Linked DNA regions of Homo sapiens: all the other regions are linked to region 4. Evidence: promoter capture Hi-C in 16 types of primary human blood cells and fetal thymus (Javierre and others, 2016). All regions are on one chromosome and are shown on one strand. Each heading gives the region's core, a stretch centred on a gene start or on the middle of the fragment in contact. The rest is flanking DNA. Distances are from core to core; before and after follow the strand shown.

What was found. The method cuts DNA at HindIII sites, captures the fragments that hold promoters and counts their contacts. A CHiCAGO score of 5 or more calls a contact.
Region 1: a contact is called between a fragment that was not itself captured here and the fragment with the promoter of OVCA2 in region 4, in 1 of 17 cell types (endothelial precursors). The highest score is 5.4, in endothelial precursors.
Region 2: a fragment that was not itself captured here is called in contact with the fragment with the promoter of OVCA2 in region 4 in 1 of 17 cell types (endothelial precursors); the score reaches 7.2 in endothelial precursors.
Region 3: a contact is called between a fragment that was not itself captured here and the fragment with the promoter of OVCA2 in region 4, in 4 of 17 cell types (naive CD8 T cells, naive CD4 T cells, fetal thymus and 1 more). The highest score is 6.9, in naive CD8 T cells.
Region 5: the fragment with the promoter of TLCD2 here is called in contact with the fragment with the promoter of OVCA2 in region 4 in 1 of 17 cell types (fetal thymus); the score reaches 6.2 in fetal thymus.
Region 6: a fragment that was not itself captured here is called in contact with the fragment with the promoter of OVCA2 in region 4 in 4 of 17 cell types (activated CD4 T cells, total CD8 T cells, naive CD8 T cells and 1 more); the score reaches 6.1 in activated CD4 T cells.
Region 7: a contact is called between a fragment that was not itself captured here and the fragment with the promoter of OVCA2 in region 4, in 5 of 17 cell types (total CD8 T cells, naive CD8 T cells, naive CD4 T cells and 2 more). The highest score is 9.0, in total CD8 T cells.

Annotation. Positions count from the first base shown.
Region 1 is chr17:2,360,500-2,363,614 of GRCh38, reverse strand. SGSM2 (small G protein signaling modulator 2) reads right to left here. Exons shown (of 24, transcript NM_014853.3): 3 at 1,816-1,978; 4 at 1,345-1,506; 5 at 710-777; 6 at 481-626; 7 at 16-150. Among named protein-coding and RNA genes, the nearest start is that of SGSM2, 25 kb to the right of the region's middle. The HindIII fragment of the contact is 2,667 bases long and covers 9-2,675 here.
Region 2 is chr17:2,404,320-2,407,200 of GRCh38, reverse strand. It overlaps LOC284009 (a long non-coding RNA gene), which reads left to right. Exons shown (of 3, transcript NR_028335.1): 3 at 1-220. Among named protein-coding and RNA genes, the nearest start is that of MNT, 4.7 kb to the right of the region's middle. The HindIII fragment of the contact is 2,381 bases long and covers 382-2,762 here.
Region 3 is chr17:1,658,465-1,661,695 of GRCh38, reverse strand. PRPF8 (pre-mRNA processing factor 8) reads left to right here. Exons shown (of 43, transcript NM_006445.4): 26 at 1-85; 27 at 290-425; 28 at 534-703; 29 at 869-998; 30 at 1,118-1,264; 31 at 1,695-1,855; 32 at 2,148-2,339; 33 at 2,933-3,170. Among named protein-coding and RNA genes, the nearest start is that of RILP, 10 kb to the right of the region's middle. The HindIII fragment of the contact is 1,619 bases long and covers 509-2,127 here.
Region 4 is chr17:2,040,772-2,043,641 of GRCh38, reverse strand. OVCA2 (OVCA2 serine hydrolase domain containing) reads right to left here and starts at 1,620. Exons shown (of 2, transcript NM_080822.3): 1 at 1,411-1,620; 2 at 217-1,037. The coding sequence starts at 1,594. The coding sequence ends at 538. DPH1 (diphthamide biosynthesis 1) reads right to left here. Exons shown (of 13, transcript NM_001383.6): 10 at 2,461-2,539; 11 at 2,021-2,161; 12 at 1,767-1,874; 13 at 1-1,037. The coding sequence ends at 1,785. RefSeq lists silencers at 1,318-1,517, 2,028-2,117 and an enhancer at 1,708-1,767. The HindIII fragment of the contact is 21,411 bases long and covers 1-2,870 here.
Region 5 is chr17:1,708,403-1,711,626 of GRCh38, reverse strand. TLCD2 (TLC domain containing 2) reads left to right here and starts at 1,250. Exons shown (of 4, transcript NM_001164407.2): 1 at 1,250-1,560; 2 at 1,741-1,823; 3 at 2,046-2,128. The coding sequence starts at 1,385. MIR22HG (MIR22 host gene) reads left to right here. Exons shown (of 3, transcript NR_028505.2): 3 at 1-123. The HindIII fragment of the contact is 21,928 bases long and covers 1-3,224 here.
Region 6 is chr17:2,313,239-2,316,429 of GRCh38, reverse strand. SRR (serine racemase) reads right to left here. Exons shown (of 8, transcript NM_021947.3): 2 at 702-873. The coding sequence starts at 869. Among named protein-coding and RNA genes, the nearest start is that of SRR, 11 kb to the right of the region's middle. The HindIII fragment of the contact is 1,310 bases long and covers 1,067-2,376 here.
Region 7 is chr17:1,676,601-1,679,537 of GRCh38, reverse strand. PRPF8 (pre-mRNA processing factor 8) reads left to right here. Exons shown (of 43, transcript NM_006445.4): 10 at 128-247; 11 at 332-521; 12 at 657-776; 13 at 886-1,020; 14 at 1,844-1,973; 15 at 2,366-2,562; 16 at 2,827-2,937. Among named protein-coding and RNA genes, the nearest start is that of PRPF8, 6.8 kb to the left of the region's middle. The HindIII fragment of the contact is 3,942 bases long and covers 1-2,937 here.

The DNA of each region.
Region 1 (3,115 bases), core at 93-2,592, 320 kb before region 4:
ATGAAGCTTTCCTACCGGCTGCACCAGCACGTGGTTCTTGCCATAGAGCAGCCGCGTCCGTGAGTTCTGGTGCAGGGACTCCACACACTCGCGGGCACAGGCAGCCAGCCTGTCCTCCGACGCGCTGCCGCTTGAGTGCCGTTTCCGGATCTGTGTGGAAGGCCGGGGCTCAGCCTCCAGCCTTGGGAAACTGGCCTCAAGGCTTGGGAACCCTCACGCTTCCATGCTGACCCTCTCCAGCTGACCCCAGGGGTCCTTCCTGCCCCGGTTTACTCCCAGCCACCCTCTGCTCTCCAGCCACGGACCAGCATGGGCTCCCGGCATTTGTGTTAAGTTTTATTGTGCGGAGAAGGCTCTTCTGAGGCAGCCGCTACCTTGGGGCATCTCCAAGGCCTGTCCCGTAGAGAGGCCGGTTTCCCGTCCCTACAGGCCCATGGGCATAGCCCAGATGAGCCCAAAGGGTGGGGAGGGGGCACCTACCCCCAGGGCTGGGCGCTTTGCAGGGGAGTCCTGGCGAGTAGGTGGACCCCGGATGCGGTGCCGCTGGACCAGCTCATCAGCAGAGGGGTCAGTCCAGTAGTGATCGGCTGTCTTGAGCTTAGTGTATTCCAAGGCACAGGGTCCCACTGTGGAGACAGAGACAGCCAGCCCAGACGATGCTCCCTCAGCACCTGCCCCGTACCCACTGTGCCTGTGCTCTCAGGCTCACCTAGAAGAGAGGCCAGGATCGGGCCGAACACAGGGTCTGCCAGCAGTGCCTCCTTCTCGTAGTACTTGCTGCCAGGAGACAGACAGTGTGACTGCCGAGGCTCCGGGGCTCATTCCAGGGCAGTCAAGCTCACCAGGTAGGGACATCCCCACAAAGACCAGATTCAGATCAGTCATCAAGAAACAGTGAGTCCTTAGGGACTGGGCTTCGTGAGGTGCCTGGTATGGCCAATGCCTTGAGGGCACCGAAGGGGACGGGGAGATGGAGGGTTGCCTACAGGCTGTCACGGACAGGCAAGCATCCTGAGGGCTGGGGCTGAGGGACGTCGGGAGACGGGTCAAGGGAGGGGCTGCTTGGGGAACGAGGCGGTCACCTGCAGTTTTTGGGGAACGGGGCGGTCACCTGCAGTTTTTGGGGAACGGGGCGGTCACCTGCAGTTTTTGGGGAACGGGGCGGTCACCTGCAGTTTTTGGGAACGGGGCGGTCACCTGCAGTTTTGGGGGGAACGGGGCGGTCACCTGCAGTTTTTGGGGAACGGGGCGGTCACCTGCAGTTTTTGGGGAACGGGGCGGTCACCTGCAGTTTTGGGGGGAACGGGGTGGTCACCTGCAGTTTTTGGGGAACGGGGCGGTCACCTGCAGTTTTCCGCCAGGTATTGCACGACCTTGTCCAGAACTTTCTCGATGAGCGCCGTGCGTACCCATACGTGTTTCAAGGCCTGAGGGCTGAGGGCCGGGGCCTTCCCGCTGGCTGAGCCCTGTCTCCGCAGGGCCTCCTGGCTGACCCCTGAGGGTTTCCTGCAAAGGCGGGGAGGGCTCCAGGAGTGCAGTGGTCTAGGGGTAAACCCCAGAATGCTGGCATTGGGAGTGGGGCTTGGTACCCCAAGATGGGAGCACAGAGAACTGACTGGGGTTGGGAGGTGAAGGAGGGGTACAGAGCCTTGTGCCCACAAGGAACCAATCCCCTCCCTCAAGCTGATCCCTCACCCAGAGGCCCTGCAAGGAACAGGCCCAGGATGCCAACTTTCCGATGGGTGTCCTAGGAAGTAGCAATTGCCAAGTGGGAAGAGCTGAAAGGAGGGAAGAAGGGGCTGGCCCAGGGCTCACCTGCCCTCTGCTTGTTGCTGCAGCTCCTGTACCTTGTGGCAAATCTCCCCCGCCACTGGGCACGTCTTCCCCACCTTGGTGAACAGGGCTGCCATCTTGTCACTGCGCAGGAAGCCAGCGGCACGGCGTCTCAGCTGATGCAAGAGGCAAGCCTCCACTGCACCTAGGCCACAAAGGGAAACGGCATCTGAGCCTGGGAAAGACGGGGGAGCAGGAAGAAAAGCTCCTCTTCCCCATACCTGTGGTGAGGCAAGGGGTAAGGGCAAGCCAAGGGCAGGCCAGGGAGATACCCTGGCTTCCTTCCAAAATTCCCCTCCCCGTCCCTCGGCTCCTGCCCGGGGCGAAGAGCTTTGACATGCCAAGCTGTCCCTCTCCCTCGCCTGGTGCGCACACACCTCCTATATGCAGCCTCACCCCTGGGGGTCATGAGGACCAAAGCTCCCCATTCAGGGTGGCATGAGTGGCTCCAAACCTGACAGCAAGGCACAGCACCTACAGGACGGGGATGTGAGGAACACCCGACTCGGGAGCCTTTCTGGAGGGCACGGAGGATGCGGTTGCTAAGGAACAGGGCTCTGCAGGAGCTAAAATATTGATGAAGTCACTGCAGAGCTTGGACCCGACAGTGGCCGCTGGACTGATGAGCCCAGCAGCTGAGGGAGAGATTTCTCTTTTCCATGCTAGGAGGGCTTCCCTCCATTCATTCATGGTTTAGGGTTAGGCTTAGTCTCTGTCTGGACTTTCCACAGACAGACCCTGCAGGAAGAAAAGAAGGGCTTGGTAGGAGACAGTAGGGAGCTGCCCTGTGCCCAGACAGACTCTAAAGACAGGAGTGTGTATGTGTGTGGGGCGGAGAAGCTTCTACATGATTGGGCCAAACTAACAGTTTTACAGGTGAGGAGGGAAAGGCCCAAAGAGGGGAAGAAACTCGATCACAGTCACAACATGGCAGAGCCACCAGGATGAGGACCCAGGGCTCCAAGCCTCGGCCCGAGCCCCTTTTGCCACGTCCAGGTGTGTCTGGTTGGGGGCAGGGACACTGAGGGGAGAAGGAGGTGGTTTTTTCACACGGACTGGAAACAGTGAGCTGTGCTGGAGACAGTCAGACAGAACAAAGTCTGAGCTTGGCACGGTCACTTGCTCTGAGACTCAGTTGTATCCTCTGTGAAATGGGAAGAGGGCTAGTGTGAGATGTCACATGAGACGGAGGATGTGAAATCACCCATGCGGGGTCTGGCTCTCAGGAGGTGCTGGGTCTAGGTCAGTTCCTGACTCCTCACCCTGTTGGTTCAGATACAGT
Region 2 (2,881 bases), core at 323-2,822, 360 kb before region 4:
GCCTTTCCGCTGGGTCAGCCTCCTCCCACCAAGCTTCTGACCCACTGTCATCCGCAGCTGCCACTCTAGCTGCAGAGCTCGACTGGGCTCTGGTTTCTCAGAAGAGCTCAGAGGACCTGGCTCCTCCCTCTTTGCTTCTGAACTGCATTTCTTTCCTTATTACTCAGTGTCCACACCCACGGTGGCTGCCTGGATAAAAATCTGCCCCTTTCTCCCGTCACCTTTCATGCCAGACAAAAGCCCCAGTGAGTAATGGTGACCTACCCAGGTCCAGCTAGCAGCTCTCCATTCCTGAGTGGCCTGGGGCAGAACAGGGTCCTGCGAGCTCCTGGATCCCAAGTCTGATTCCCTTTCCCTGTCTTCCCGCTTATCTGCTAAGCTTGTTTATTGGGGACCACTAAGCAAAGTGAATGATTATTCCTGTCTTTAACGAGGAGGGGTGGAGTTCCCTCTCCATCTTCACCCACTTCTGGGAGGCTTTCAGGGACTCAACACCCCACACTGATAGCACTTCCCCAGGCCTGGCCCAGCCAGCCAAAGAGGAGGACCAGGCCACTTCTCAACCTAGCTGATGCTTGGCAGCTTTGTGACCTTGGATACACCTTCTCTTGGGAGGTCAGACCCCATGATCCCAGCTCTTCCAGCTATGACATCATGTGAGGCTGCAATTTTTTTTTTTTTTTTTTTGAGACAGTATCTTGCTATGTTGCCCAGGCTGGCCTTGAAATCCTGGGCTCAGGCGATTCTCCTGTCTCAGCCTCCCACGTAGCTGGAACTTAGGGCGTGAGCCACCGCGCCCAGCTTCTGGAAAGGACATGAATGGGGAGGTGGAACTTGATTGGACCTGTTCTGTGAGTTCAGGAGAGGTCCTCTGACAACTCACTTGGGGTGGGGAAAGGAGGTAAAGAGTCCTGTGGAAACTTTTGGCTGTGGGGACCCCATTTCACTGATGATTGAATGGGTCCACCTCTGTCAAAGGAATTCAGAGTCCCACTCATCATTCAGACTGGGGGAATCAGGCTCAGTTGACTGGCCCAGCCTTAAATCCACTGAATTTGTTTTTATCTCTACATAGAAAAACGGAATTACAGTTGCTTCTCACTGTCCAATGGGGATTGGTTCCTGGAGCCTCCCTGAATACCTGTCCATGGATGATGCTCAAATCCCTTACATGTAACCTATGCACATCCTCAGGTATCCTTTAACTCATCTCTGCGCTACTCAAATACCTCATACCATGTAAATGCTGTGTAAATAGTTCTTGTGCTGTGTTGGTTTTTAAATTTGTATTATTTTTTCTTGTATATTTTCCATTTTTTTTTCCTGAATATTTTTGATCCACGGTTAGTTGCCTCCATGGGTGCGGACCCACGGACACGGAGGCTGCACCTTCTGAAATGAGCATGGCGGCGCCCTCTGGGTCCTCGTGTCGTCCTGTCTCTGGTGCTGCATCCAGCACGGTGGCGAACAGCAGAACTAATCTTTTGCAAGTTATCACAGTGGAGTGGAGTTCCGCTCTGTTTGCTTTTGCCCCGCTCTGGCTTACCAGAGGTCCCCTGGCCTTGGCCACAGCATACCTAGCCTAGTGCTTGGCACCTCAGGCACACAATAAATATTTATGAAATGGATCTTCTCTGGTATGTCTTGAGTGTACTAGTCTTCTGTTTTTTCCTCTTCATCCTGCAGCCAGCTTCCTCCCATGGGTCTTGTTTTAATGATGGTATGTGAAAAGCTCCTTAGCTGCTTGCAAAAGATGAGACATCAGGCTTGAAGGGTTGGGATTTCCTGTGAACATCTGTACTTTCGGCTTCACGCCCTTTCCCCCATCTCATGACTCAGGCTTTGTAGGAGTCAGGGCACTGATTTTCATAGCTCTTGGAGTTGATACTTTGTTAGGTGAGTGGTGGGGGATAGGAAGACAGTTCCACTAAGGGGATGTCTCTGGCTCAGCATATTAAAAAATTGGGGAATTGGTGCTTCTTATTGTGGTTGGTGAAAAAAAGAATAAAAGATTAAAAAATTGGAGGACATAATGGAATTTGAACTGGGAGGTGGGGTGCACAAGACTCGGGGAGGAAGACTGAAAACGGAAACCCTCTCGTGAGAAACTCACAATGATGGACAGCCCAGCTTTTCTCCTGCTCCAAGGTACTAAGCACCCAGAAGCCATGAAGAAACTTAAGGAACAGCCGGGCGCGGTGGCTCACGCCTGTCATCCCAGCCCTTTGGGAGGCCAAGACAGGCAGATCACTTGAGGTCAGGAGTTTGAGACCAGCCTGGCCAACATGGTGAAACCCCGTCTCTACTAAAAATACAAAAATTAGCCGGGCGTGGTGGTGCGTGCTTGTAATCCCAGCTACTCCGGAGGCTGAGGCAGGAGAATCACTTGAACCTGGGAGGCAGAAGTTGCAGTGAGCCAAGATCACACCACTGCACTCCAGCCTGGGCAACAGAGGGAGACTCTATCTCAAAAAAGAAAAAAAGAAAAAGAAACTTAAGGAACACCTTTTTAGAGATTGCTGGCCTTTGGATAATTCCCCAAACCTGCTAACCTTTCTGCTGAAACCAAAAGGACTTATTTCTCTTTCTCTTGAGTGAGTACATTTGCCAGCTTCTATCCTGGCTCCACCCCCTTGGAACAGGAAGCTGGGGCTAAAATATTAAACAGCCCTCCTATTCATTCCCCTCTTCTTTCATGCCCTCACATCGCCATTTATAGGTATCTCCCACCCCCACTGTCCATTCCTCAACTGGGGAAAGCTTGGTTGATGAGGTATTGTTTTTGGCCATTTTCAGGCTCCTGTAGGCAACAATAGGTCCAGAAACAGCCTCCCCCACCCTTTTTTTTTTTTTTTTTTTTTTTTTTTGGAGACGGAGTCTC
Region 3 (3,231 bases), core at 69-2,568, 380 kb after region 4:
AGCCATGGGAGAGCGAGTTCATTGATTCTCAGCGGGTCTGGGCTGAGTACGCACTCAAGAGGCAAGAGGCCATTGCTCAGAACAGGTGGGCACCTAGGAGGGCATGCCAACCCTGGGGCAGGGGCAGTGGTGGCCTTTGAACCGTGTGGAGTTCAGGGTCAGAGCATGCCATGGTTGTATGGAGGTGAGAAGGCTGGTTCTACTGACCCTAATTATTTTTGGCCAGGAAGGAGTGCTGAGCTCCTCATATGAGATCACGTTTTGACTTGAATCTTTCTTTTTTTGGAAGACGCCTGACTTTAGAAGACCTAGAAGATTCATGGGATCGTGGCATTCCTCGAATCAATACCCTCTTCCAGAAGGACCGGCACACACTGGCTTATGATAAGGGCTGGCGTGTCAGAACTGACTTTAAGCAGTATCAGGTATGTAGAGGGAGCAGATTTTCCCTGAGTCAGGAAAATCCATGGCTATCCCCGAAACTTGGGGCAATAGGCACCCAGAAGCTTGACCGTGCCTGCCTTGCCATCTAGGTTTTGAAGCAGAATCCGTTCTGGTGGACACACCAGCGGCATGATGGGAAGCTCTGGAACCTGAACAACTACCGTACAGACATGATCCAGGCCCTGGGCGGTGTGGAAGGCATTCTGGAACACACACTCTTTAAGGGCACTTACTTCCCTACCTGGGAGGGGCTTTTCTGGTGAGGATTCTCCTCTCTTAGAGGGACCTGTCACAACCCTTTGAGCTCATCTCTTGTATGCCTCTGTGATTTCCTGTGGTGTTTCCCAGACAGCCACCTCCAGGAGGTTAGCAGTGTGCTGGGAAATGGCAGGATATCACCTCACCTGCTTCTCTTGCTCCCCAGGGAGAAGGCCAGTGGCTTTGAGGAATCTATGAAGTGGAAGAAGCTAACTAATGCTCAGCGATCAGGACTGAACCAGATTCCCAATCGTAGATTCACCCTCTGGTGGTCCCCGACCATTAATCGAGCCAATGTGAGTGTGATTGACACTGGAGAGGGGAAGCTAAAGACAGTTGCTGCTTCTTGCCTTGGTTATGTCGTGAGCGCCCGAGTCTCTTGATCTCTAATGTCACATTGTCGTTTTCCTGGCAGGTATATGTAGGCTTTCAGGTGCAGCTAGACCTGACGGGTATCTTCATGCACGGCAAGATCCCCACGCTGAAGATCTCTCTCATCCAGATCTTCCGAGCTCACTTGTGGCAGAAGATCCATGAGAGCATTGTTATGGACTTATGTCAGGTGGGCTGGAATCGAGGGGAGAGGGTACTGTAGAGAGTCAGCTCAGGTGGAATTGAGGGGAGAGGGTACTGTACAGAGTCAGCTCAGGTGGAATCGAGGGGAGAGGGTACTGTACAGAGTCAGCTCAGGTGGAATCGTGGGGAGAGGGTACTGTAGAGAGTCAGCTCAGGTGGAATCGCAGGGAGAGGGTGCTGTACAGAGTCAGCTTAGGTGGAATCGCGGGGAGAGGGTGCTGTACAGAGTCAGCTCAGGTGGAATCGCGGGGAGAGCGTGCTGTACAGAGTCAGCTCAGCTTGCTCTTTTGCATATGGGAAATCCACCCTGGAAGCTCTGAGGATGAGACTCCTATTGCCTCATTATCTTATTGTACAAACTCTGATTTTAATTGGGCTTCCTTAACAAGTCTTAATCTCTCCATGTTTTCCTTCAGGTGTTTGACCAGGAACTTGATGCACTGGAAATTGAGACAGTACAAAAGGAGACAATCCATCCCCGAAAGTCATATAAGATGAACTCTTCCTGTGCAGATATCCTGCTCTTTGCCTCCTATAAGTGGAATGTCTCCCGGCCCTCATTGCTGGCTGACTCCAAGTAAGTGCCTCAGGACCCAGCCCTAGGCAGCCAGGACACTTTCGTTTTCCTGTTCTTCTAGCCCTGCAACTTTAGGAATTGTCCTGTCTGCCTTTGTTTCAAACTTGGAGCCAGTGCTACGCTTGGAGCCTGTCAACACCCTTAGTCAGATCTGCTGATTCTCTGGGGTCCTGCTGACCTGGAACAAGTTGGTGGAGTGGGTGGGATGGTTTTGGGATTTAAGTGGTTCTGGTTCTGGGGACATTGGTTATGCCCATGGTTTCTTAGAAGCTTGAACCCTCTTCATCCTCAGGGATGTGATGGACAGCACCACCACCCAGAAATACTGGATTGACATCCAGTTGCGCTGGGGGGACTATGATTCCCACGACATTGAGCGCTACGCCCGGGCCAAGTTCCTGGACTACACCACCGACAACATGAGTATCTACCCTTCGCCCACAGGTGTACTCATCGCCATTGACCTGGCCTATAACTTGCACAGGTGAGTTGAGGCTCAGGACCATGTATTTTCAGGCCAGGCGCAGTGGCTCACACCTGTAATCCCAGCACTTTGGGAGGCCGCGGTGGGCAGATTGTCTGAGCTCAGGAGTTTGAGACCAGTCTGGGCAACATGGTGAAACCCTGTCTCTACCAAAATACAAAAAATTAGCTGGGCGTGGTGGTCCACGCCTGTAGTCCCAGCTACTCAGAAGGTTGAGGTGGGAGAATTACTTGAACCCGGGAGGCGGAGCTTGCAGTGAACCGAGATTGCGCCACTGCACTCCAGCCTGGGCGACAGAGTGAGACTCCATCTCAAAGAAAAATAATAATAATAATAAATAAATAAATAATCCGTGTATTTTCCATTAGCTCCATACTTTAACGTAGTCATACTTTTTTACTTTACCTAAGTGAGAGGAAGTGGCCCATTCCTCCTATGGGTCACTGATTCTCTTCTCCAGCCTGTATGTACACATGAGCAGAGTGTTGTCAGCCTGGCGAACAGTCTTTCTTCCTCTGTAGAGTTGGCAGCTTGTCTTGTTTCTGGGGCTGTCATTCTCGTCTTAACTTTTCTTGACCCTTTTATCCTCACAGTGCCTATGGAAACTGGTTCCCAGGCAGCAAGCCTCTCATACAACAGGCCATGGCCAAGATCATGAAGGCAAACCCTGCCCTGTATGTGTTACGTGAACGGATCCGCAAGGGGCTACAGCTCTATTCATCTGAACCCACTGAGCCTTATTTGTCTTCTCAGAACTATGGTGAGCTCTTCTCCAACCAGATTATCTGGTTTGTGGATGACACCAACGTCTACAGAGTGACTATTCACAAGGTGAGTGTTAGCAGCAGTGTATAGGTGCGGGACTCTGTACATGGCTGTGGGAGAGTAATGG
Region 4 (2,870 bases), core at 371-2,870:
CTGATTGTGCCACCTAGGCCTCCTTCCCTTCAGTTTGGGACTTAAAACTTCCACCAATAACGTGAGTATGTGCACCCATGCAGCAGCCTGTCCGAGGACTCACAACTGGAGACACCTCCCTGCTTGGCGCTGCCCAGAAAACTATGTAGATGGCCAAGAAACCGACTTCCATTATAAAATGTTTTTCTGTGTGTACCAGGAAAAAGATGCTCAAAATCCAAATCACCACTTTATTATGTGGCAGTCACCATGGTGCCAGCCTCTGCCTTCCCCATGTCACCCTCCTAATCCAGGGCTCTCCAACCATATTCATGTTTGCGTTTTCACAAGTCAATGTCCATTAAGGCCTTGTGCTCCCCTTTTCTTCAGTACAGGGCAGGGCCCTTATAATTTGGGTCTCAAGAATTGATAGTTGTCTCTTAACTGGTTCTGGTGAGGCGCACTCACAGCAGTGAGTGGAGGGTCCTGGGAGGGCATGGATGACGGAGGCTGCCCCTAGAGGAGCTGGATGTAGGAGCAGAGACATTTCTTGATCTTTCACTCTGCAAACTGGTCCAAGAACTTGAGGTAGGCCTGACGCTGGGGTGCAGCTGCTGGAATGAAGTGGCCACCAGAGTGGGTGAGGGTGATGGCTCCGGGAAATTGGCTGGCCAGTTGCACACTCTCCTGAGAGGGGATGACTTTGTCAGTGTCCCCAAAAACATGGAGCGAAGGCAATGACAAGGGCCTTTGCAGGATGGATTCCTTGAACCCAATGCCCCGGGGACAGAAACCAGACACCAAGAGGATAAACCGTGGCAAGGGGAAGCGGGGATCGCCTGCCTGGCCCAGGGCACACACAAGGGCTGCTAGCGCAGCCCCTTGGCTGAAACCAAGAAGGCCGTCAAAAGGCCCCAGCCTGTTCAGTGCCTGTGCCACCATCCCCAGTGATTCCTCCAGGCCCCTGCAGACGGCGGGCTCTTCCAATGCGGAGAAAACGTCGGCCTCCTGCTCTGAAAACCACCAGCCTCGAGGCTGCTCCTCCGGAGGGCAGGACCCTACAGCGATATGAGGAAAAAGGATGGGATTAGGGCATGGGAGGCTCCAGGAAGGAAAGAAATGAGAAAGGGCAGGAGGGTTCGAGATGACAGAGAGAAAAAGGGAATCGAGGCAAAAGTCTGGGGGAAATGAGAGGGGGGAAATGAGTGGATTGGCCTGAACAGGAGACAGCGGAGGAAGACGGTGAAGGCGGAAGCCTGGGAGGACAGGCTGCAGTTTGAGCAAAGAGGGTATGGGTCGCGAGAAATGAAGGGTGTGGACTGGGTGGGAGGAATGCGGGTGGACGCAGGGTGGGGGATGCTGAAGGGTGTCGAGGGGGACGAAACAAGATGGAGGAAACTGAGTGCGTTTCCGGAGCGGGGCTTGTCTCACCGAAGTCTGATCTGGCGCCCTCGGGGCCCGGGGGGTCGGGGACCGGGTGCGGGCCGCTGAGGCACACGAGCTCGGCGCGACCCCGCAGCGCCTTCCTCAGCGCCCCGGTCTTCTCACGGAAGCCCCGCTCGCTCTGCCGGAAGCCCGCCAGGCACAGGACCCGCAGGGGTCGCTGCGCGGCCATTATGCCCGGCAAGGAGCGACGGAAGCACCGGAAGCGGTCTTTCCCCGAGCGGAAGCACAATGCACGGGGCGGAACCGAACGTCAGCACCGCCCCGAGGGCGGGCCTCGGAGCGCCAAGGCGTTCCCATGACAACGGCAAAAGGCGGGGCGCACCCAGAGCGGGGGCTGATACCTGAGGCCCGGGAGCGCGTCAAGGAGCCAGCGGCGCCACCTTCTCGTCCCTGCAGCTGCAGTCCTCGCAAGCCACGGCCGAAGGGGGACGCGCGGACCCCTCCTGCACCTGAGGTCGCAGACTTTGGTTAGGGTCTCGCTCCTGCGACCCTGCGTTTCCCTCCGCTCCGCTCCTGTGCGTTTCCCGTCGCGGTCGCAGGGCGGCGGCCAGTGCCCAGGCGCGGTCTCTCCTCCCTCCTGGAAGCCCCCGCCTACCTTCCCCCGCGCGGGCCGGCCCGGGGCGTGGGGACGGCGGTCCTGGCCGTGGTTCACCGTCCAGGGCCCCAAGGAGCTGCCAGCGTAGAAGTCCATCGGGTAGGGCTGCTGCCAGGAAATGTCCCTCAGAGCCACGGCCGCCTAGGGGAGGGGAGGGAGGGACAATAACATCTGCCAGTGTTTTTCTGCCCCTGGATTACTGAATTCAGTCCTCACGACGGCCTGTGAAGGGCACACTGTCCCCTGCCACAGAAGGGAACTGTGTGGTTCAGGGCCTTGCCTAAGGCTACACAGCTAGGAAGTGACTCCGCTGGAGAAATCGAGACAGACTCCGGAATCTACGAACATAACGAAGTGCTGCCCACCCACCCCACTCCACTCCAGACCTCACCTTTGAGAACCACGTCCAAAGCCCACTCTCTCCCAGAGCTTGGTGTTACCTCATAGGGTGTCAGCAGCGGCTTGGGGAAGGCTGTGCCCCAGTCAATGGAGAGACGTGGACATGCCACCTGCACCCACCTGGGAAGGGAAGCCAGGTCAGACCCTAGGAAGGGCCTCCTCGTCGCCCAGGCAGCATGCTGAAGAACATGACAGTGCCCCCAGCACACCCATTCATTAACAGGCTTTATGAATCCTAAAGTAAAGACAGTGACCCACTGCTGTTTGGAATACTGTATTGTTGCGTGTTTTCTCCTGTTTCCTCTGCCGACAATGAGCTTTCCAGGGCAGCTCACTGGTGATAGTATCCCCAGAACCACATTTAGTACCTGGTACAGGGCAGGTGTCAGCCACCGCTCAAACTCATCTCACAAGGACAAATGTGATGTTGCCATTGCCTCTGAGCCCCAAA
Region 5 (3,224 bases), core at 1-2,500, 330 kb after region 4:
AAAAATGTTGAGTGGTTATCTTTGTATGGTGGAACAAAGTCACTGTAATTTTCATCTTTGGTTTTTCTGTAATTTCCAAATTTTCCACATTTTGTATTTCATATAATATAATTTAAGAGATCAGTGTTATTATTTAAACCTTTGGAGAGGTGGGGGTAGAAGAATGAAGGGAAGACCTCAGCTTTTTGGTGAGAAGGTTTGGTTGGGGCACCTCTTGGTTTATGAACTTAATTCTTTGAAGTAGCTGGAATCCTCCCTCTCAGCCTGCAGGAAACAGCTCTGACTTGCTGACTGTCTGCCAGCTGAAGAGGTGGAGTGGAGTAAGGTGGAAGGAAAGCAGTGCAACCTGGGGCTCTTCAGGTGGTGAGGGGCTGGGGGAGGCTCTTCCTCTTAAGGCTGGAGGGTTCTGGAATCCTAACCGCCCTGCTACTAAGAGCAGGACAGGTCTGTTTTTCTCTTCTGACTCTGTCCCAGCCTTGAAGGGACCCTGTGTTACCTTTCCTTGCCCTCGGATTGAAGATATTCTACCCACCCAACGGGTACCAAGCCCTTGGGGAAGGAAGTGCTTTTCAAGACTGGGGGCCAGCGATTCCCTTTTGCGTCCTCTTCCTAATGAGGCTCCTCCGTAGGGCCGAAAACAATGCTGGGGGTCGGGGCGGGGCCCAGTGGGTCGCTTCTCCAACATGGGGTCTCCTGGGGGTTGTGGGGGAGGGGGAGCAGAACTGCTGGAATTACAGGTTTGCCGGGATATGGTAAAGGCGTGGAAACCTCAGGAGGCCGAAGGGGTGGCTCCAAGAAAGTGGGGCACCCCGTCCCCACCACGGACGCGGGGAGGGAAGTGGGGGCGGCGGCCAGGCTCGGGCAGGTACGAGTGGGCTGCGCTAGCCTCTGCCTTGCAGGGTGTGGCGGTGGGTGGTGATGACGCTCAGCAGGTGAAAGTCGCGGGAGCCGGGAAGAGGTCAAGGTTCGTGGGTGGGGCCCGGGAGTGTCAGTTGAGGTTAGACTGGAGACCCAGGTCTGCAACTCCAGCGCTTCAGGACGCTTGGAGCTGGGGAGGACCCCTATTGGCGAACATCCCGGAGGCCCCCCGAGCTCCAGGGCATGGTCTACTGCCCGGAGCCCCCGAACCGCTCCCCCGGCTGGAGCAAGACGCAATCGGTGGCCAAGGCTCCGGGGGCGGCGGCCCCGCGGCTGCTCCAATCACCGCCCAGGCGAGGGACTGGGCGTGGACGAACGGGGAAAAGTTCCTGCTGATCCCAAAGGCGCGGCGGGGAGGGGAGCCGGGGCCCCAGCCCTGCCGGGAAACGGGTTCCCAGTCCCGGCCGAGAGCGCGGGCGCCGAGGGGACCGACCCGGACTCCCCGCAACCCCCCAACCGCCAGGCCATGGCGCCCACGGGGCTCCTGGTGGCCGGCGCCTCCTTCCTCGCGTTCCGGGGGCTGCACTGGGGGTTGCGGCGGCTGCCCACGCCGGAATCGGCCGCTCGGGACCGCTGGCAGTGGTGGAACCTCTGCGTCTCCCTGGCGCACAGCCTGCTCTCGGGGACCGGGGCGCTGCTCGGGTGCGGGCTTGGGGGCTCGAGGCGCACGGGGCGAGGGCGAGGGGTGGGAGGCTGAGGCCGGGAGACCCGCCGGGCGTCTCCAGAGCTGAGACTGGGGTGGGGGTGCGCACAGGGAGACTGCGGCCGGGGCCTCGAGAGGCTGACCATGCCCCCCCCCATGTCCCCACCCCATGCCCCCAGCCTGTCACTGTACCCTCAGATGGCCGCCGACCCCATCCATGGCCACCCGCGCTGGGCTCTGGTGCTGGTGGCTGTGTCTGTGGGTGAGTCTGCAGGGAAGGCTGGGCCGGTGGTGGGGATGGGGCGGGGGGCAGGTTCTGCTGTCCTTCCAGGTCCATTCCCCGCCCCCATGGGGGTTAAACGTTCCTGAAGGCTTTACCAAGGGAAAACTAAGAACTGGGAGAGGGGCGGGGCGGGGGGGCTGGAAATCCTCTCTAAGCTGCCCGGGCTCTGGAGCAGCCTAACCCCTACCCCCATGCCCACAGGTTACTTCCTGGCAGACGGAGCTGACCTGCTGTGGAACCAGACCTTGGGCAAGACCTGGGATCTTCTCTGTCATCATTTGGTGGTGAGACTCTGAGGGCAGAAGCCAGACAGGAAGGGAGGAGGGGAGCCCTGTCCAGCCCGAGGTTCCCAGTCTCTCCTCATTCTTTTTTTTTTTTTTTTTTTTTTTTTTTGAGACGGAGTCTCACTCTGTCACCCAGGCTGGGGTCCAGTGGTTCGGCCTCTGTTCACTGCAACCTTCGCCTCCTGGGTTCAAGCAATTCTCCTGCCTCAGCCTCCCACGTAGCTGGGATTACAGGCACCCGCCACCACGCCCAAGTAATTTTTTGTATTTTTAGTAAAGACGGGGTTTCTCCATGTTGGCCAGGCTGGTCTCGAACTTCTGACCTCAGGTGATCCGCCCACTTCAGCCTTCCAAAGTGCTGGGATTACAAGCATGAGCCACCGCCCCCGGCCCTCTCTTCATTTTGCTGTCCTATAATTTCCCACAGTCTCTGCCCCCAGCTGGTGCTTGGCTCCCAGTCTTAGGCTGAGTTAGGGGGAGGAGGTGGCTGCTGGCCACAGCTGGGGAGTCCAGATACCCACCAGGCCAGGGCACCTACCATGCCAGGGCACTCACCATACAAGGGCACCCACCATGCCAGGGCACCCACCATGTGAGCCTAAGGAGTTTGGGTGCCCCCACAGGTGTCCAGCTGATCACAGAAATGTGGAATATGGAGCTTTTCTGAGAAGGGGGTGTCCTGGTATAGGGTGTGGGTATGGGGCATGAAAGCCCTAGGCCAGGCACGGTGGCTTATGCCTATAATCCCAGCACACTGGGAGGCCGAGGCGGGTGGATCACGAGGTCAGGAGATCGAGACCATCCTGACTAACAGTGAAACCCCGTCTCTACTAAAAATACAAAAATTACCTGGGTGTGGTGGCGCGCACCGGTAGTCCCAGCTACTCTGGAAGCTGAGGCAGGAGAATTGCTTGAACCCAGGAGGCAGAGGTTGCAGTGAGCCAAGATCACACCACTGCACTCCAGCCTGGTGGCAGAGTGAGAGTCTGTCTCGAAAAAAAAAAAAAAAAAAAAAAAAAGCAAGCAAGCCCAGGAATGGGAGGTTAAGGGGGTATTAGGGGGTGAGACAGCCCCTCCCTGGGCCAAGCCTGGTTCC
Region 6 (3,191 bases), core at 472-2,971, 270 kb before region 4:
TGTTTAGATATTTCAGGTTGCTTCTTTCAGTCCCAAACATGTCCTAGTTTGGATAATAAATTATGTCTTAGTTTGGACAGTAAGTGATGGTATATATAATAAAGTCATGCTTTGCTTAAGGATGGGGATATGTTTCGAGAAATGCATGATTTGGCAATTTCATCATCTTGCATGCACCATAGAGTGTACTTATACAAATCCAGCTGTTACAGCCTATTACTCCTAGGCTGCAAACCCTGTATAGCATGTTACTGTACTGAATACTGTAGGCAGCTATAACACAATGAGAAGTATTTCTGTATCTAAACACAGAAATCGTACAGTAAATGTGTGGTATAACCTTATGGGACCAAGGACCACCATCATATAGGTGGTCTGTCATTGACTGAAACGTTATGTGGCATATGACTGTATTTTATGTATATATTATATATATGCACATACATATATATAAAAATTACTCGGATAAGTTATATATATTATCCTAATTATAAGGATTTATGACTGTGTAAAAGTTGCTTATCAACACTATGATGCTAGGTAAAACAAGGACTTGAAAGGAAAATTTCTGTAACCTTTTTTCCAGCTGTATAAAGGCATTAATTTACTTCTGCCTATCTCATTGGGTGGTCAGGAGAATCAAACTGATATGTGAAAGGGTGTGAAAACATACATGATACACTGAGAAAAAGGATTGTTACCTTAAAAGATCCTGTTTTCTGGAAGAGTTCACATTTGAAGAAAAGATTGCGCCCTGTTAGTTGATTCAAAATGGAGCTTGTTAGCACTGGTGTGAGGTGGATAGAATCTCGAATGTTGATATGAGCTTTTTCAACATCAGCAAAGGAGATGCAATACTGAGCACACATGGTTCTGAAACCCAGGAATAAGAAAGGGGTCAAAGCAAAGTCTGAGACAGTATGTTTATTGAAGAGATTTTGAAAATACGTAACAGAATAGACCTGGGGCCTGTGGTGTCATGTGGAAATTCTCCATTATTGGAGTGTCAGAATTTCCCTAAAAGAGAGTTGACTTAAAAGCTGAACGAAGTTTTTCTGGTGAAGCTTTGAGGGAAGTAACTGATGGTGATTACAGAAGGCTAAAGCCCACTCCCCACCCACACCACCCATCTCTTGGCACTGTTGGCACTGCCACTGGTCTCCATCTTCCTTTTTTTTTTTTTTTTTTTGAGACGGAGTCTCGCTCTGTAGCCCAGGCTGGAGTGCAGTGGCACAATCTCGGCTCACTGCAACCTCCGCCTCCCGGGTCAAGCAATTCTCCTGCCTCAGCCTCCCGAGTAGCTGGGATTACAGGAATGTGCCATCGTGCCCAGCTAATTTTTATATTTTTAGTAGACACGGGGTTTCACCATGTTGTCCAGGCTGGTCTTGAACTTCTGACCTCGTGATCCGCCTGCCTCGGCCTCCCAAAGTGCTGGGATTACAGGTGTAAGCCACCGTGCCCAGCTCCACCTTTCTTTTAATCATCGTTGTGAAGCTACTTGAATGAATTGGATTCAATTTTTATATTATTTTTAATTTATAAATTTAAATTTTTAATTTTTAATAAAAATTTAACAAATTATTTGATAAAGAAAAAATAGCTAGACTATTCCATTTAAATAACTATGTTCATTTTCTTTATTTCCCTCTGCATTTTCTTTTTTTTTGTTTTTTGAGATGGTGTTTCACTCCTGTTGTCCCGGCTGGAGTGCACTGGTGCAGTCCTGGCTCACCACAACCTCCACATCCCAGGTTCAAGCGATTCTCCTGCTTCAGCCTCCCGAGTAGCTGAGATTACAGGCATGCACCACCATGCCCAGCTAATTTTTTTTTTTTTTTTTTTTTGAGACAGAGTCTCGCTCTGTCACCCAGGCTGGAGTGCAGTGGCGCGATCTCGGCTCACTGCAAGCTCCGCCTCCCGGGTTCACGCCATTCTCCTGCCTCAGCCTCCCTGGTAGCTGGGACTACAGGCACCTGCCACCATGCCTGGCTAATTTTTTGTATTTTTAGTAAAGACGGGGTTTCACCGTGTTAGCCAGGATAGTCTCAATCTCCTGACCTCGTGATCCGCCTGCCTCGGCCTCCCAAAGTGCTGGGATTACAGGCGTGAGCCACCAAACCCGGCCAATTTTGTATTTTTAATAGAGACGGGGTTTCTCCATGTTGTGCAGGCTGGTCTCGAACTCCCGACCTCAGGTGATCCGCCTGCCTCAGACTCCCAAAGTGCTGGGATTATAGGCGTGAGTCACTGCGCCCGGCTCCTTCTGCATTCTCAATATACATTATGTAACAGTTAAAGCAAACATTTTATTTGCTCCTACATTTGACTCAGTTTCTTTACAATTTTCATAATTTTCAATAACTACATTAAGCTTCCACTTTCCACTGTGTCTATTGTAGCAGTTAAATATGAAGTTTCTCTATTTTTCCTTATTACAAAAGAATCTATATTCATTAGAAAACTGAGTTAATCTGAAAATACAGAGATACAAAAAGAACATGAAAATAGCCACGAAACCTTCCTACCTAAAGACAGTTGCTATCCAGTGGTTTACCTTTCCAGGCCCAACTACATATGCAGACAAAACTCTTTGGTAGGTTTGGTAACTTCTTTTTTTGTCAGACAGTATTATGAATATCAATGAATCTCATAGGTGAGTACATTTATCAACATTTTTTTTTTGTTGTTTTTTTGAGATGGAGTTTCACTGTCACCCAGACTGAAGTGCAGTGGCATGACTGTGGCTCACTGCAACCTCTGCCTCCTGGGTTCAAGCAATTCTCCTGCCTCAACCTCCTGAGTTGCTGGCATTACAGGCGCCCACCACCACACCCAGCTAATTTTTATATTTTTCGTAGAGGCGGGGTTTCACCATGTTGGCCAGGCTGGTCTTGAACTCCTGATCTTAGGTGATCCGCCCGCCTCGGCCTCCCAAAGTGCTGGTATTACAGGCGTGAGCCACCACGCCCGGCCCATTTATCCAACTTTTTTTTTTTTTTTGAGAGAGTCTTGCTCTGCCGCCAGGCTGGAGTGCGGTGGCGCCATCTCAGCTCACTGCAACCTCTGCCTCCCAGGTTCAAGCGATTCTCCTGCCCTAGCCTCCCTAGTAGCTGGGATTACAGGCGCCTGCCACCACACCCAGCTAATTTTTTTATTTTTAGTGGAGACAGGGTTTCACCATGTTGGCC
Region 7 (2,937 bases), core at 106-2,605, 360 kb after region 4:
TGTAGCCTTTTTTTTAAATTCTTTTTTTTTTTTTCCCATAAAAATGGTAGACAACCCAAGGCTTGCAGCCTTTAGCAGAGTGTCTGGAAGAAGAGATGGCCAAACTCTGGTGGGCTTATTTTTCCAGGTATCGGGAGCATTGTCCTGCCGGGCAGCCTGTGAAAGTGAGGGTCTCCTACCAGAAGCTGCTTAAGTACTATGTGCTGAATGCCCTGAAGCATCGGCCCCCTAAGGCTCAAAAGAAGAGGTAAGGTGCCCCAGGGGCCCTGCGCAGACTTCTGTTCCAGAGATATCAGTAGGCTGACTCTTACTCTCCATGTTCCCACCTCAGGTATTTGTTCCGCTCCTTCAAAGCCACCAAATTCTTTCAGTCCACAAAGCTGGACTGGGTGGAGGTTGGGCTCCAGGTTTGCCGCCAGGGCTACAACATGCTCAACCTTCTCATTCACCGCAAAAACCTCAACTACCTGCACCTGGACTACAACTTCAACCTCAAGCCTGTGAAAACGCTCACCACCAAGGTGCCTGCATTGGACCCTAGGGGCCTCCTGGGCTTCAAGGACGGACAGTTGTTTTCCTCTGGTTACTGATGAAGGCATACATCAGTTGGGTCCATTGCTCATTCACGTTCTGTCTGTTTTTTGCATCTTCTCCAGGAAAGAAAGAAATCTCGTTTTGGGAATGCTTTCCACCTGTGTCGGGAAGTTCTGCGTTTGACTAAGCTGGTGGTGGATAGTCACGTGCAGTATCGGCTGGGCAATGTGGATGCCTTCCAGGTAAGGTTAGGTATTCCCAACCCCTGCCTGGGTGAGGACGCTGGAGGAAGCCTGTGCTGACCGTGGAGCTGGTTTAAGCTCCAGGTCTGATGGGGCAATTGTATTGCAGCTGGCAGATGGATTGCAGTATATATTTGCCCATGTTGGGCAGTTGACGGGCATGTATCGATACAAATACAAGCTGATGCGACAGATTCGCATGTGCAAGGACCTGAAGCATCTCATCTATTATCGTTTCAACACGGTGAGACCTTGACTTTACTGACTTTCTTTTTTTTGAGACAGAGTCTTACTCTTGTCTCTTGGGCTGGTGTGCAATGGCACGATCTTGGCTCACTGCAACCTCCGCCTCCTGAGTTCAAGCAATTCTCCTGCCTCAGCCTCCCGAGTAGCTGGGATTACAGGTGCCCGCCACCACGCCTGGCAATTTTTTTTTTGTTTTGTTTTGAAACTGAGTCTTTCTCTGTTGCCCCAGCTGGAGTACAATGGCACGATCTTGGCTCACCACAGCCTCCGCCTCCCGGGTTGAAGTGATTCTCCTGCTTCAGCCTCCCAAGTAGCTGGGACTACAGGCGCGCACCACCATGCCTGGCTAGTTTTTGAAATTTTAGTAGAGATGGGGTTTCACTGTATTGGCCAGGCTGGTCTTGAACTCCTGACCTCAGGTGATCCACACTCCTCGGCCTCCCAAAGTACTGGGATTACCAGCGTGAGTCACCGTGCCCAGCCTCACTGGACTTAACTTTCTCAGATCTTTTTTCATGTATACATTTAGACAGGGCTCTTTCCAGGGACCTATTTGGAGAGCAGCTATGACTGTGTCCTTACTGCTCCTTTAAATTCACATGGGCGATCTTAGTTCCTGGTTTTTGCCTTAAGGTTTCTCATTTACCCTTTTGTTTTAGATGTTGAGGTCCCAGAGTTTTTTTTTCTTTTTACCCCTCTACTGCCATACCTACATTCCTCTGTATGTATATTATACATATATGCCCCACCTCTGCCCAGGTTTCTATTGTTGTTTAAATGCATTGCTAACTTGTATTCTTAACTTCTGCTTGGGATCGTAGGGCCCTGTAGGGAAGGGTCCTGGCTGTGGCTTCTGGGCTGCCGGTTGGCGAGTCTGGCTCTTTTTCATGCGTGGCATTACCCCTTTATTAGAGCGATGGCTTGGCAACCTCCTGGCCCGGCAGTTTGAAGGTGAGTGGTTTTCTCTGTGTCCAACTTCTCCTGTTATTGCTTCAAAAGTACCTGCCCCTGTTTGAGTCTGTTCCCTGCTCTTGTATGAGCACTCTTCCTACTGGATTGCCTTTAGGTCCAGTTCTGAAATGAGTCTGACCTAGTATTCTATTTCTTGGGCTTCCTTCTGGGGCCTTGAGAGGCAGTCATGCATTTGCAGGAGTGGAAATTCCTCAGAAGCATAGTTGTGAATGTTTAAGGTAGCTCGTCTTTTTGCATATGCTGGGCACAGGGACGCTTTGTTAATACCTAATTTTATTAATAACCATAATGAGTGAGGAGCATGAAGGTAGAGACCCTTATTGAAAGCAAGGAATCTTCCTTGTAATCCCCTTGGGACACTCTACTTCCAGGTCGACACTCAAAGGGGGTGGCAAAGACAGTAACAAAGCAGCGAGTGGAGTCACATTTTGACCTTGAGCTGCGGGCAGCTGTGATGCATGATATTCTGGACATGATGCCTGAGGGGATCAAGCAGAACAAGGCCCGGACAATCCTGCAGCACCTCAGTGAAGCCTGGCGCTGCTGGAAAGCCAACATTCCCTGGAAGGTGGGTGTCTCTTTATTTCCTTGGAGGCGTAAACATCCGTCTTTAGGGTAGGATTACCACTTCGGGAATCATTAGGGGGCTATCTGGCTCCAATCTCTTTTCTTTTCCCTTTTAGACAGGGAAAAGAAGCACCATGTTGCTTAGGCTGGCCTCAAGCTCCTGAGCTCAAGCGATCCTCCTTAGCCTCCTGAGTAGCCGGGACTACAGATGTGTGCCACAGTGCCTGGCTGGATCCTGGCTTGATTGTGCTTTTTGGACTTTTAGGTCCCTGGGCTGCCGACGCCCATAGAGAATATGATCCTTCGATACGTGAAGGCCAAGGCTGACTGGTGGACCAACACTGCCCACTACAACCGAGAACGGATCCGCCGAGGG